Regions from separate parts of the Homo sapiens genome. Here region 2 is linked to region 1. The links are contacts of gene promoters, found by promoter capture Hi-C in human tissues and cell types (Jung and others, 2019). All regions are on one chromosome and are shown on one strand. Each heading gives the region's core, a stretch centred on a gene start or on the middle of the fragment in contact. The rest is flanking DNA. Distances are from core to core; before and after follow the strand shown.

Region 1 (7,493 bases), core at 3,885-6,384:
GCCATCTGGCGGGAGGGACTTCTATCTCTTATCTCTTCTCTTCCTCCACCCACTTTCTCCTATATCCTCCCCCACTTCCAGGTTTCTCTGGCCCTTCCAACAGCAAGTATCGCCAGGAGCAGCTCCCTAATCTACATACTACAGATCTATCCACAAGAAGACAGATGGAACCACTCTTTTCTTCTGAATTCTAGAACCTTAAGGAAGTTAACCTGAGTGGCTCAGCTTGGATCAAGTGCCCATCCTGGTCCAAACAACTGTAGCAGCACATCTGTGTATTTGTGTATCTTGTTCCTCCATAATCTTGCAGTCCGGGGAAAGTGTGCAGATGGATGGGTCCCTGAAAAGCAAGAGTTGTTTAGACAACGCTAGAGGTGTTCAGTTCTGGGAGACAAGAGTTGGGCCAGGTTGATAACTAGCCTAAGAGAGTCGGAATCAGATGAATAAGAACTAGATCTTGGGTGACAACCTAGATCAAGAGTCTTGAGGTTCAGTCATTTCAAAAAGCTCAAGTCTCATTGCTTCTTGGCCTTCTGGCTAAGATCATGTGCAGTATCTGTTCTTACCAGTTTAATATCTGATACATCCTCTATCTGAGGATAATATAATAAATAGATTTTTGGAGCAAGGAGATGGAATAGGAGCTTGCTCTGTCCACTCTACACATTGGCCTGGATTGCAGTACCTCCAGGAATGGTGCACCCTCTCTACCACCCCCAAAAAGCCCAAGTCTCAAGAGGTAGTCTGGAAAAAAGTGTTTTTGGATTTACCTACATTTTTTTTTCCAAGATGGAGTCTCGCTCTGTCACCCAGGCTGGAGTGCAGTGGCGCCATCTTGGCTCACTGTAACCTCTGCCTCCAGGATTCAAGCAGTTCTCCTGCCTCAGTCTCCCAAGTAGCTGGGATTACAGGTGTGTGCCAACCATGCTCAGCTAATTTTTCTATTTTTAGTAGAGACAGGGTTTCACCATGTTGGCCAGGCAGGTCTCAAAGTCCTGACCTCAGGTGATCTGCCTGCCTTGGCCTCCCGAAGTGCTAAGATTACAGGCGTGAGCCACTGCGCCCGGCCTAATTTTTGTAATTTTAGTAGAGACGAGTTTTCACCATGTTGACCAGGCTGGTCTCGAACTCCTGACCTCAGGTGATCCACCCCCGCCCTCGGCCTCCCAAAGTGCTGGCACTACAGGCATGAGCCACCGCTCCTGGCCGGGTTTGCCTACATTTTGGAGATGCTGCACACCATGTCCCTCTTTTCAAGAGTCACGTAAGTATTTACATATGGAAGACCCTGAGAAGGCACCTGGGAAAAAACCTGTTTAACTGTAAATATAATAATGTATGTATTTGTATGTGGAGCTCTTCTTTTAGTGGATTATCTATAAACCGTCCACTGTTCCCAATGCATACTTTGGAGACAGACCTACACTACCAGTTTTCACCTGCTAGTTATTTTTATAAGGGTTGGGATGGTCCATGAGTGAACAGTCTTGATTTAAAGCAGTGTTTCCCAAACCTCATTTATTTGCCTATAGCCTTCCTGGAGTTTGTCTTATATGTCCGCTCTGTGCACTATTCCTATATGTTTTTATGTAAATCAATCACTTTTTTAAAAAGCCTCATCCCAGTTATATCCTTAAAACAATGGTTATTTTTTCTCATACACATCGAAATACATATCTATTAGAATTAAAATGCTTGTCCATGCACTATCAATAATCTCCTCAAGTACCATATGGTGGGGACATGTGTTTGAAGTGTTAGGAGTCAGGAGTGGTCTCTGTAAGACAGAGTAAGTCAGTCAACCTCTGAGCACTGCCAGCCACACATGCTGGCAGAGAAGTTCAGCCTGTGACAAGACTGCCCGGATATTTCCATGTCTGTGCACGGGGATGTCCTCGGTCTGCCATTGTGAAGTCTGTGCTGTTTTCATGCCTACCTAGTCTTCTTTGGAGGGGCCTGGAAAGCAAATGCAGGCTGGGTACAGTGGCTCATGCCTGTAATCCCAGCACTTTGGGAGGCAAAGGTGGGCAGATCACGAGGTCAGGAGTTTGAGACCAGCCTGACCAACATAGTGAAACCTTGTCTCTACTAAAATTGCAAAAATTAGCTGGGTGTGGTGGTACGTGGCTGTAATCCCAGCTACCCGGGAGGCTGAGGCAGGATAATTGCTTGAACCCAGGAGGCGGAGGTTGCAGTAAGCCCAGATGGCACCACTGCACTCCAGCCTGGGTGACAGAGACTCCATCTCAAAAAAAAAAAAAAAAAGAAAAAAAAGCAAATGCAGATTCTCCCTGGGAAACGGGGGGTTGGGAGAGTGGAGTAGTGTGGATGCATTGTTATTCCTGAAGGCCGTCCTCAAATTATCTTGGACTCACTGCAGCAAGCAGATGCCTCATCTTCTGGCCAGGGATTGATCCTGAGATGGGAAGAGTATGAGAAGAGACACCAACAGCAAGGCAAAACTGGCTCTGGCAGCTTGCTTCAGAGAAAGAGTATAGCTTTGGAGTCAGGCCGACCTGAGTATGAATCCAAGACTCAGCACTTACTAGGTGCCTGCCCTCAAACCATTATTTTTTGATAGTCATTACATACCCACAATGATCACCATGGAGTGGATGAGGAAACAGGGACTCAGAGAAGTTAAACAACTTGCCTGATATCACACAGGTAACAAACAGCAGAGCAGAATTCAAACCTAAGTTGATTTGACTTCCAAATGTGTGCTCCTAACCAAAGCAGGGTAACCTGCTTTGATTTGCCCATTTCTTGAGCACCTCTTCTGTAGGAGGGCCTGTTGCTGGGTGCTGGGAATTCAGTGGTAGGCAAGATGGACAAGATTCCCCCCTCTCACAGACCTTGCTTGCTATAGGGGAAATAGACAGGAAACCAATTACTACATTTGTAACTTAATAACAAGTGTCATAAGTGTTACAAAGGAGATAGATACTATAAGGCACCTTTTATTTTTATTTGTTTATTTATTTTTTGAGACTCACTCGCTCTGTTGCCCAGGCTGGGGTACAGTGGTGCGGTCTCGGCTCACTGCAACCTCTGCCTCCCAGGTTCAAGCGATTCTCCTGCCTCAGCCTCCCGAGTAGCTGGGATTACAGGTGTGAACCACCACACTCTGCTAATTTTTGTATTTTTAGTAGAGACAGGGTTTCACCATGTTGGCCAGGCTGTTGTTGAACTCCTGACCTCAAGTGATTGATCCACATTGACCTCCCAAAGTGCTGTGATTACAGGCGTTAGCCACCGCGCCTGGCCTATAAGGCACCCTTGGTCAGCCAGTGGAAGCAGGGTCAGTAGTGCGCCGGAGAGTCACTTTGAAAAAGTGATATTTAGGTTGATCTTGAAGCATTCACAAGATGTGGTAAACACATCTAATGGTAAACATGTGATGGTAAACATTAGATGTGATAAAGATACTGATGGTCCACTGGATGAACAGTTTTCATATTTACTTCCAAATGATTTCATAGATATTATTTCACAGATAACACTTAGGATGAAGGTAAATAAAAAGGAGATCAATTAAAATATGAAATAATAATAGTGAAAGTGGTAATAGATGTGGCAATATCCACAAAGGAGTAATGGTTAGATTAGCATATTGAGAAGATCACTTTGGCAATTGTTGGAATGCAGTTTACGAGAGGGCCAAGAATGGAAGCAGCAATCCCTGTTAGAAGTGTAGTGTTTTGGAGTGCGGTGTTTTTTGTTGGTTTGTTTTTTGTTTTTTTTAAACCAGGTCTCACTCTGTTGCCCAGGCTGGAGTGCAGTGCAGCCTCGACCTCCTCCTCGGGCTCAGGTGATCCTCCCACCTCAGCCTCCCGAGTAGCCGGGACTACAGGCACATGCCACCACACCCCGCCAGTTTTTGTATTTTTTTGTAGAGTCAGGGTTCTGCCATGTTGCCCAGGCTGGTCTTGAACTCCTGGGTTCAAGTGATCTGCCAGCCTCGGCCTCCCAAAGTGCTAAGATTACAAGTGTGAGACACCACCCCCAGCCAGCACATTGTATTAATCCAAGCAGGAGAACGCAGACTTCAAAGGCTTATGGGCAGCAGAGAGAAGTAGATGAAGCAAAGAGATGCAATCAGCGGGACTAGTGGGAAATGAGGGAAAGGAAGGTGTCAGGATGGGGCTTTTTCTAGCTGAGTGGAGTTCAGTTCATTCCCAGAGAAGCTTGAGAGGTATCCAACTATAGATGCAAGGTAGCTGGCTGTTGGTCCCTTGTCTTTAGGACAGTTTGACTTTTGTAATACAGGCGACCTCACAGAGCTATTGTGAGAATTCAGAGCTGGGCACAGAATAGATGCTCTATAAACGGTAGTTCTATTCCCCATTTGCCCCGTCCTCCCAGCATGCCAGGGATACAGGGGCGGATAGAGACAGGTTCAGTTCCCTTTGGTCTCTTGCATTCCCCCTTCCCTCAGCACAATTCCTGGGCTCATAGCGGATGCTCAATAAGTATTTGTAGAATGAACCAAAGAAATCAGACCCTTGGTGACCCAGGGCTACATGTACTCGGCGGAAAACTGGGGTTAAACCGGACCCTTGGTTGGTTGAAAAATTAAAATAATTTTTAAAAAGTGGGCGTGAAATAATCCAGAAGTTGGAGGGCCTGGACAAAGGCTGGGGAGGGGACTCCTCCCACCAGGCGGCCTCAGGGTCGGCTTAGCAAGAAAGGAGGCGCTGGGGAGACCTCTGGGGTCCCAGCTGCCAAGGTACTCGCCGCTCCAAGGAGATGCGGACGCCGGATACCAGCTCTGCCCAAGATTGCTGGGTCCCGCCGCGGCCTTTAAAGGCCCACCACGTGGCTGCGCGGCCAGCCCTGGTCCGGAGGCGGTGCCCGGGTGGCGCCTGCGCACTGCCTAGCAGAGGGGCTGGGGTTCCGAGAAAAAGCGTCTGGAGAGGAAGGGGAGGCTGCTTGGGGTGGGACGCCGTGGGAGGAGTCGGCTCCTTATGCAAATCACAGCGGAGCGCGCACGGTCCGGAGGCGGGGCTTGCGATGCAAAGACAGGTCCGTCTGGCGAACAGCGAGGGGGCGGGCCGCAACCCTCTGCCTCTTTCCGCGAGCGCTGACGTCGCCGACGTGTTGTTTAAAAGCGGCCGCGCAGGCGCAGTGAGCCCAAATGCGAACTTAGGCTGTTACACAACTGCTGGGGTCTGTTCTCGCCGCCCGCCCGGCAGTCAGGCAGCGTCGCCGCCGTGGTAGCAGCCTCAGCCGTTTCTGGAGTCTCGGGCCCACAGTCACCGCCGCTTACCTGCGCCTCCTCGAGCCTCCGGAGTCCCCGTCCGCCCGCACAGGCCGGTTCGCCGTCTGCGTCTCCCCCACGCCGCCTCGCCTGCCGCCGCGCTCGTCCCTCCGGGCCGACATGAGTGGGGACCACCTCCACAACGATTCCCAGGTACGGCCCGGCCTGACCCTGGCGGCCCCGGACCCCGGCCTGGCCGTCCCGCGACCCCCGGCGCAGGCCCCGACCCCAGCCCCGGCCCGGCAGCTTTGACAGGCCGGAGCCCCCGGTGAGGGGCCGCCTGCCGGAGTAGATCGGCTCGCTAGGCCGCGAGCGAGGGCCGCGAAGTTACAGTTCGAGGCAGGGATGGCTGCCCTCTGTGGCCACCCCCGGGTCCCCGTCCTCCCCGGGGGCGCAGGGTGAGCCAGACCCCGGCCGCGCGCGCTCGCCGCCGGAGGGGTTAAAGTGGCTGTTGTTTGATATTCTCTCCTTTTCTTTTTCCAGATCGAAGCGGATTTCCGATTGAATGGTGAGTGTGCCCCCTGCGCCGACTCCGGGGCCCCCCAGCCGCCGGCCGCCTCCCCCGCGCCCTGCCGGTGCCGGGCAGAGGACAGACATGGCGTCCCAGAGACTAAGTCCCGGCTCCTCGCTCACCGGCCCCATTGTTCCCATCGGGCCGCCTCTTGACCCCCTTTCCGGGGACCCCAGCTCCTCCAGATCCCGGCCCTCCCAAGAGGGGACAACGGAGACCCCGTGTCGTCCGCCACCGGGCCTCGGGCGGTCTTTCCGGGCCGGGATTCCTCCCGGGAAAGTCGCCTTGTCGACGGTCGGGACTTAGTCTCTGCGCCATTTTCTTTTTCTCTCTCCTCTCCTTTCTGTGCCTGTGTCTCTTTCTCTCCCTCCCTCGGCTCTTTCCTTGAGCTGCCCAGAATGAGCTTTCTGCAGAGCAAAGCCGTATAAATCACATACTTCACCAGAGAGGGAAGGCTGGGGGACTGAATTATTATTTTTTAAACTTTATTTTGGGGGTTATTCCCTTTATGCTTCATGTTTGTTTCCTTTTCTGCTTCCAGAATGAAAGATTTCCTTAAGCAACTGTTAATTTTTTTTTTGATAGGCTGTTTATGATAGGAATTATGGCTCTAAAACTAAAGCCACGCTTTGTGGAGTTCTTTATATTTCCAGGTTGTTTTTCCCAAGTTACGTTCTTTGCAAAGGTAGCAGTACCTCCCTAAAGAAAGTTTGCAAGTTCTCTGTGGGTCACCCAATGTAAATGTTGGATTTTTAAAAAATTATGTTAGTCACTGGAACTTTTCATTGTGGTCGAGGTTCCCAATGCAGTGTTTTTCTGGAAACGCAGTTTAGTGTACTTGTTGGAAGGAAAGATTGTTGAGCATCTCTTGTGGACCTGGTGTGTTGGCCTTTTCGTTTGGGTTGTAAGGAGGAAAAAAAGATTTTATTTATTGAAGCAAAGAGTGTCCAGTACCCACCCCTGCTTCCTGTTCATTCTTTTTCACGAGCCACTGTTTTTCAGGAATCAAGAACTGGCTTTTTTTTTTTTTCCCAATTCTTTATGTTTTTGAACCCTTTTCAGCCAAATCAAGGCATTTATTCTTACTGTATTTCCACTTCAGTTACCCAGGGAAGAGTCCTCCAATAAAAAGCTCATCCTTGCAGGCTTTCGAACAACCCTGTTGAAGGAGAAGTTACCTTCTGTAGTGTGCTGGGAATTCCCACTGATTTTGATGGTACATAATCCTGCTCAATTGAGTTTGGGTTCCGGGAACCTCTCCAATGGGAGAAGTTGATGAGTAGGTTTTCTAATGTTGTAATCAGCAGTCCATCATGTTAGCCTGCTCTACTGAGAGCAACCTTATGTTCAGAGTTTGAAGTGGGGCATCCAGCAGGAGATGGTACTCAGCCAGGAGAGAATCTGGTTTAAAGTATGGCATTTCTTGAGCACCAGATATGTGCCAACCACTGTGCTTGGTGCTAGAGCTGATCCTGTAACCATAACACTCCCTTGCTCTCAATTCAGTCTATTGGGGGAGACATAATTAGTTAATTATAAGGTAACTACTGGGGCATATGTGTACCCAAAATGCTTTGAAGTATAGGGGAGTTAATTTTGTCTGAGGGTGGGGAAATTTCTCAGAGGAGGTGACTTCTGAGCTGGGGGTTGTGGAAGACTGGGCGCAGAGAATTGTCAGGGGTTGGAGTGTTTCTTAAGTACGTTTAACCAACCTATCACGAT
Region 2 (7,171 bases), core at 513-3,012, 1.4 Mb after region 1:
TGAGGAGCTACAGAGTCAGGCAGAACTAGCTTTGGTTCCTAGAAAAGATTGCAACATAATCACAGCTGCTTAGTTCTACCCCTATCTTCAGAGATTTATGGCTTCACAGTATAAGGATTGGAAAAGCCTGCCCGGGCCCTGAAAACTCAGAGGGAGTATCATCCATATGCAAGAAACTTTGAACAGCTTTCAGAAGGTGGAATTCACATGGAAAAGGACAGAAAAGGGCATGGGTGGTGCAGGGAAGAAAAGATTTCTTTCCTCATCGGTTGCTAGGTTCATGGCTGAGGCACCTAAAACAAAAGACAGATTAACAAGAGAAAAGCATACGCATCTATTTAATACATGTTTTACACAACAAGGAAGTCTTCAGAAAAGAAGGCCCAAAGAAAGAGGAAAATCTGATTTTTTTTAATGCTTACATTTGATGAAGAGTGGACAGTTGTGCCAAAATATAATTGGAAAAAGTGGGGATTGTCTAATGGTGATAAACTGAAGGGAATTTAGCAAGATCTATTTTGTAACGATTCTTCTCCATCCCCCTGTGTCTTCAGAGATAAGGACGTTCCTCTCCTCTGGGAATAGGAAGGGCACCTCTGGAATAAGGGTCTTAGGACTTTCTTCAGGGGAGAAGGCTGGGGGAAGGTGAGATATCCTCCTACTTCTGCTGTCTACCCAAATGCCAAGGTGCCATATTTGGGGGTAGCATGTTCTGAACCCCATCGATTGTGAAGTCAGTAAATCCATCTTCATTGTAACCCTTTTTAAAATATGCATGTATATTAGGGAATAATTTGAACATAACACAAATGTTTGATTATGCCTCATTTCACAGGAGAGAAAAGCAGGTGACTGGAGAAAACTGCACTCAGATGAACCAACCACGAAGGAATACACAAAATGTATGCACTCATACACCTCAAACATCTGCTTCCCCACTCAGATTACAGTGTGTGTCAGCCACATCTGGGGTTCCAACTTTCCCTCCCATTTCAGACGATCTTCCATACACCATTTCTCAATAACACACAAGTTGGAATCTGATGCCCACTTACACACAGACTGCATCTCTTTCAAAGTAAAGTACCATATTTATTGTAGTATTTATGTATTCCTTAGCTATTTAACATGTCTAAAACTGAGCTAAGATTTTTCCTAGGTTCCTATTGTTTGGGTCACTGATAAAGTTTTTAAATATTGTATCCTAACTTCATTCTTCCTATAAGCCCTGTAATTTTTAGTGTGCAATTTTACATATCGTGGCGATATTTAGGAATGTATAGGTCACATGACATCAGAACTGACTGTATTCGCAAGCGTTGGGTGAGTAAAGAGGGTAGATATCAACAGAATTGCATGGAAGAGTCAGGGAAGACTACGGCTTCCTATATTCCCGAATACAACCTGCAAGATGCCCAGTAAGGCAGGATTGTCCAAAACAAATAAGGAGGAAGGTAAAAATGCACAAAGTCTATGAAGATGTGACAGGTCTTTTTTTTTTTTTTTTAATTTTACTACTTGATGGATATGCCTTCAAAAATGGTGAAAATGTGTATCTTCCTTAGCAGAAGACACACTTGTCTATGTAATATCCATCTCTCTCCCCGGCCCTCTTCTTCACTTCTGGCAAACACTGATTTGCGTGGTATTTACTCTTTAATGTGGCTATGCATTCATCAAAGGAGATCCCCCTTTATCCCATCTCAAGGTTTATTCCACCTCGAGAATAAATATTGAAGAATCTCAGTCAATCATGATAACTATTTTCTTCACCAGTGATCGGTTAACCTATGGGCATGGGACCTCATTCTTGCCAATGAAACGTGAGCAGAAATTTACATTGTGCATCTGGGAATATTTGCTTAAGAGATTCTTAGGAAGGGATGTCCCCAGGTCCACAGGAAATGTCTGAGGGCATGGCAGCTATCTTCTGACCAAGAGGACGGCCAGCCTAAAGACAAAGCCCACACACTGGGGTTGACAGAGCAGAAAAACCTGAGTCAATCATGATGTTTTTAAAATAATGAATTAAGCAATTCCGCAGCTTAGGATATGATTGGATACCTTGTTATATGATGTGACACATTTTCCATATGGTATAAGTCATTTTGAGTTGGCTTTGTTACTTAGAGCTGATTATTTTACTATTTGTTTAGCAATACTACTTTCAGAAGAATCAAAACTATGAGCAAAGAGTGACATAAAGGGGAATTCATTGAATCATTATTTGTTCAGTGCAATAATGAACAACTAGAAAAAACTAAATACCCAAGATGAGGGAGCTGGCTAAATAGATTGAGCCCATTTTACAGAATCCTCTGAAACCATTAAAATGAAGGTGATATAAATGTAATATACATTGATATTGAGAAATGTTCAAAATGTTCTTGCCCCTCTTGCTCATTTAAGTCATTTGTCACAGTATTAACTCTGCTGAAGCCCATATTTTCTGCCTACTCCGAGTCTGCTGGACAAGTGTGAGGAAAGCAGTGACCCATGCTAACTGGTCTCGTTGTAACTCCTGTCTGCTAACCTCAAGTGCTCCCTTGGTATTTCCTGGTGATCCTTTACATTTCCCCATTTCAGTCTCATTTTCAGACTCCCACACTGTTTCCTACTTTATGGAGTCTCTTCAAACCTCCAACACCTCCACGCTCTCCTCACTCTTAGCTGATAACCCTGCTTCCTGTTTCATAGAGAAAATGGAAGTTCCATGGTGAGAACACGGCACATGTCAGCTTAACTGACCCATCCCCATACATTCTGTCTTCCCTCCTTTTTCTACAGCAGAAGGACCTATGCCGCATCTAAGACCAACTCTTCTATGTGTGAGTGAGACCCCCTGTGCTCTCATTTACCAAACGTCATCCCAAGAGCAGTGTCCATCCTCTTTGGGGCTTTTTCCCTTTCCATTGGATCATTTCCCTTTAGTTCTAATATTTCTCAAATTTTATAAAATACCAACAACTCCCCACCTTTTGATCAGAGAACATCTTCAGGTACTGTCTCCTGTCTCTGCCTTCTTTGTATCTTTCTATACAATTCCTCTCCTGCTGCTCTCCCTTGGGCCTGTGTAATCAGATTTCAGTACCCACAATTCTTTATAAATTGCTAATGTTAACTCACCAATGACCTCTCTGTTGCTGCATCTAATGGTCAATTCTCAGTCCTTATTTTACCTGAACTACCAACAGCATTTGACACAGTGGATCACCTTCTCCTTTTGTTCTTTTTTTATTACTTGGCTTCCTGGACCCTGCCCTCATTTTTCTTCTTACTTCATTGGCTGATACTTCTGTCTCATTTGATGATTCTGCCTCAAATTTTCCACCTTAAAAATCCAAGGGTCCCAAAGCTTAGCACTAGAATCTCCCTATTCTACCTACACTGAGACCCTTTCACCTCCTCCAGCTTTACGTCTGCAAAGCTCGTGCATAGGCTGACTCCCCTGCTAACATCTCCGTCCTCTACTTCTCCCCTGAACTCCAGACTGGCATATCTGTCTACTTGATATCTCACCCAAAATATCCAACAGGAATCCATCTGAAACTTAACAGATGCCAAACCTAAATCCCAATCTTTCTCTGAAACCTGCTCATTCCAGTGTCTTTCCTATCTCAGTTAATAGCAACTCCATCCTTCCATTTGCTCAGTCTAAAATACCTGGGGTCATTTTTGATTCCTCTCTTTCTTTCACATCCCAAACCTACTTTGCTACCAAATTCCATTGGCTTTATCTTAAAACTACATCTAGAATTCTACTACTTCTCATCACTCCCTCCTACTTTGGTCTGAGCCTCCACCATCTCTCACCTGCATTATTAAAATGCCTGCTCAGCAGCCTCTCTACTTCTATCCTTGCCTTCCTTTAGCTTGTTGTCAGCAGAGCAGACAACATGATCCATTTAAACAAAAAGCCAAATTAGTTTCTTCCACTCTTTCCCTTACTCACTCTATTCCAACCACACTGGCTTGGAACACGCTAACCAGTCTCTCCCGTGAGGCCCTTTGCACTTTCTTTTTTGTTTGAGACGCAGTCTTGCTCTGTTGCTTAGGCTATAGTGCAGTGGTGTGATCCCAGCTCACTGCAACCTCTGCCTCCCGGGTTCAAGTGATTCTCCTGCCTCAGCCTCCTGAGTAGCTGGGATTACAGGCACCCAACACCATGCTCAGCTAATTTTTGCATTTTTAGTAGAGACGGGGTTTCACCATGTTGGCCAGGCTGGAACTCCTGACCTCATGGTTATCTGCCCACCTTGGCCCCCCAAAGTGCTGGGACTATAGGCGTGAGCCACTGAGCCCGGTCACTTTGCACTTTCTGTTCTCACTGCCTGGAACAGCCTTCCTCCAGACAGAAATTTGCCTTCCCTCAGGTCTCTGTTCAAATGCCACCTTTAAAGCCAGGTCTTTCATTGAAAATAAAATGTCCCTCCCACACAGGTGGCCAGTACACCCTGTCCCCATTATCCTGCTTTTTTTTACCTGACAGCATTATTGCCGTCTGATTTACTATATATTCATTTACTATCTGTCGCACTCAACTAGAACATAAGCTCCAGTGAGATGGTGTCAGTTTTCCCACTGTCATTTCAGTGCCTGGAAAAATGCTAGACCTACGATGCGTATTCATGTGTTTGGTGAATAAATGAAAATATTGCGTTAATTAAAATGCACACAGGTTATAAACAATTTTTTGTTTTTGTGAAACAAATCTCTAGGAAAGCCAATAGTTACTGGATATGTAATTTTTTTGTCAACTTTTATTTTGGAATCAGGGGTACATGTGCCAGTTTGTTACAAAGGTATACTGCGTGATGCTGAGGGTTGGATACCAATGAATCTGTCACCCAGGTAGTGAGTGTAGTACCCAATAGGTAGTTTTTCAGCCCTTGCTACCACCCTCCATTCTCCCTTCCCCTCTAGAAATTCCCAGTGTCTTTGTTCCCATCTTTATGTCCATGTGTACTCAATGTTTAGCTCCCATTTATAAGTGAGAACATTTTCTGTTTCTGTGTTAGTTTAAGTTAACGGCTTTCAGTTGCATCCATGTTGTGACAAAGCACATGATTTCATTTCTTTTTCGGGTCTGCATAATATTCCAGGGTGTATATGTAACACATTGCTTTATTTGATCCTCCATTAATGAGCACCTGGGTTGATTCCAGGTCTTTGCTATTGTGACTAGTGCTGTGATGAACATACATCACAGGTGTCTTTTTGGCAGAATGATTTATTTTCCTTTGAGTATATACCCAGTAGTGGGATTGCTGGGTCAAATGGTAGTTCAACTCTTGGTTCGTTGAGAAATCTCCAAACTGCTCTCCACAGTGGCTGGACTAATTTTAATTTCCACTAACAGTAGACACTTACTTTGTACCAGTCATTTTCTTGGGCAATTTCTTATGTCATCAAAATCATAACTATTCAAAGAAATAGGCACCTAGTATCTCCACTGTAAATTTGAGGAAACTGAGGCTTGAAAAATGTAGTTAACATACTTTGTATTAAATAACTAGAAAGTAGCAGAGGTAGTATCTGGTTTGATGATCTATTGTCTGTGGTATACTACCTCAAGGTATGTGTGTCTGTTCCACAAAAAAAATTGTAAAAAAAAATACATACATGAGAGGATCATTCCTTAATAAAACAATAGATTAAAAGGAATAACCAATAGATGTGTACAAATCTGATTAAACTAATGGTTAATAAAATGAAATAAATTAAAATGGTATGGGTTTTTTTCTATTCTATTGGCAAAAATATCAAGCAGCAGTAGCCATAATGTATTAACAAAATAATCATTTACATGTGGGAAGATTTATGTGCAAGGATTTTCATTACAGCATTGAGCATAACAGCCAAAAATTATCTAAAAACAGGAGCAGGTTAAATAAAGTATGTACATCTCAAAGATGGAGTACTATATCGTCATTAAATGATGCAAAATATTATTTGAGATGTGAAAATGATGAGTGTATTATTTCATGAAATATGCAGGCTACAAAATAGCATGTATATCAGAATTCAAATGGCGCATCGACAAGAACAAAATCTCTTTGTATATGTCTTGATCTGAATATTAAAATTCTGGAAGGAAGTCATCTTTAATAACAATAATTACCTCCTCACAGAGACTCTATGTGTAATAATTTTCCATTTTAAATTTATGTATTTTTTAATTTAAAAAAACATAGGGCTGAATCAGGTATCTATTGGTACTCCAACATTTAGTGGCTTAAAACAACAATAATTGATTATTTCTTATAGTTTTCTGAGTTAGCAACCTGAGCTGTTCTGCTAGAACTGCTCGATGTCATTCAAGTAGCCATAGTCATCTAAGCTCAGCTGAGGCTGCATGTTCCAAGATGGCCTCACTCATACAACTGGCAGTTGGTCCTGACTGTTGGTTAGGACACTGATTCTCTTCATTTAATTTCTCATTTTCCAGGAGACCAGACTGAGTTTCTTCACAGAAAGGTGGCCCCAGACACTGGGAGGGCAAGAGCAAACATTCCTAGTCAGTCAAGGCGTTTGAAAACCTCATTTCTAGACTTGCACATCATCACTTCTACCACTTTCTATTAGTCAAAAAGATTCACAGTCAGTGTGGATTTAAGGGGCTGGAGACTTAGGCTCCGCCTCTTGCTGAGAAGAGTGGCAATGTCACATTGCAAAGGGGCATGGGCATGGGCATAGGGATGTATGATTCACTGAGAACCATTACTATAACACTTTATGCATTGTAACAGATTATCTATCACAAAGGTCATCCTTCGGCGGTAGGAACTATGGCACCCTCAGAGTTTATCACCTATGTAACCATAGCTTTAAGCTTGGGCAGCAATATGAGAAGCCACCCTTAGTGCCAAGGCAGGGGAGGAGAAAATGGCAGTGCAAACCAAGAAGTCTAAATAACAGTTCAGAAATAGCACCAGAATCACCTGGGATGGGGAGCTTTAAAAATACACTTACTCCTAGAGCCCACAGAGGATTCTGATTTCAATGGGATAGGCCTGGGGTTGGACTAATAACTCTTTTGGTAAATCCCTCCCAGGTAATCCAGATGCTTAACCTGGTTTTGAAATCTTTGCACTAAACACAGGATATCCTGAGGGCTCAGACTCATTTTGAGGAATACTGGAGAGAGGCTCCTTTTTTCCTAGCAGCCAAA

The links. Contacts are between HindIII fragments. The study calls those that stand out against the background at their distance.
Region 2: a contact is called between a fragment that was not itself captured here and the fragment with the promoter of TOP1 in region 1, in 1 of the 25 tissues and cell types used here (lymphoblastoid cells).

What each region holds. Positions count from the first base shown.
Region 1 is chr20:41,023,688-41,031,180 of GRCh38, forward strand. It overlaps TOP1 (DNA topoisomerase I), which reads left to right and starts at 5,135. Exons shown (of 21, transcript NM_003286.4): 1 at 5,135-5,413; 2 at 5,744-5,768. The coding sequence starts at 5,381. LOC100128988 (a long non-coding RNA gene) reads left to right here. Exons shown (of 3, transcript NR_145525.1): 3 at 82-1,709. It also overlaps the pseudogene RNU2-52P. RefSeq lists silencers at 4,834-5,185, 5,406-5,475. The HindIII fragment of the contact is 11,082 bases long and covers 1-7,493 here.
Region 2 is chr20:42,392,552-42,399,722 of GRCh38, forward strand. All of the region lies in intron 9 of PTPRT (protein tyrosine phosphatase receptor type T), which reads right to left. Among named protein-coding and RNA genes, the nearest start is that of PTPRT-AS1, 570 kb to the right of the region's middle. The HindIII fragment of the contact is 6,662 bases long and covers 1-5,093 here.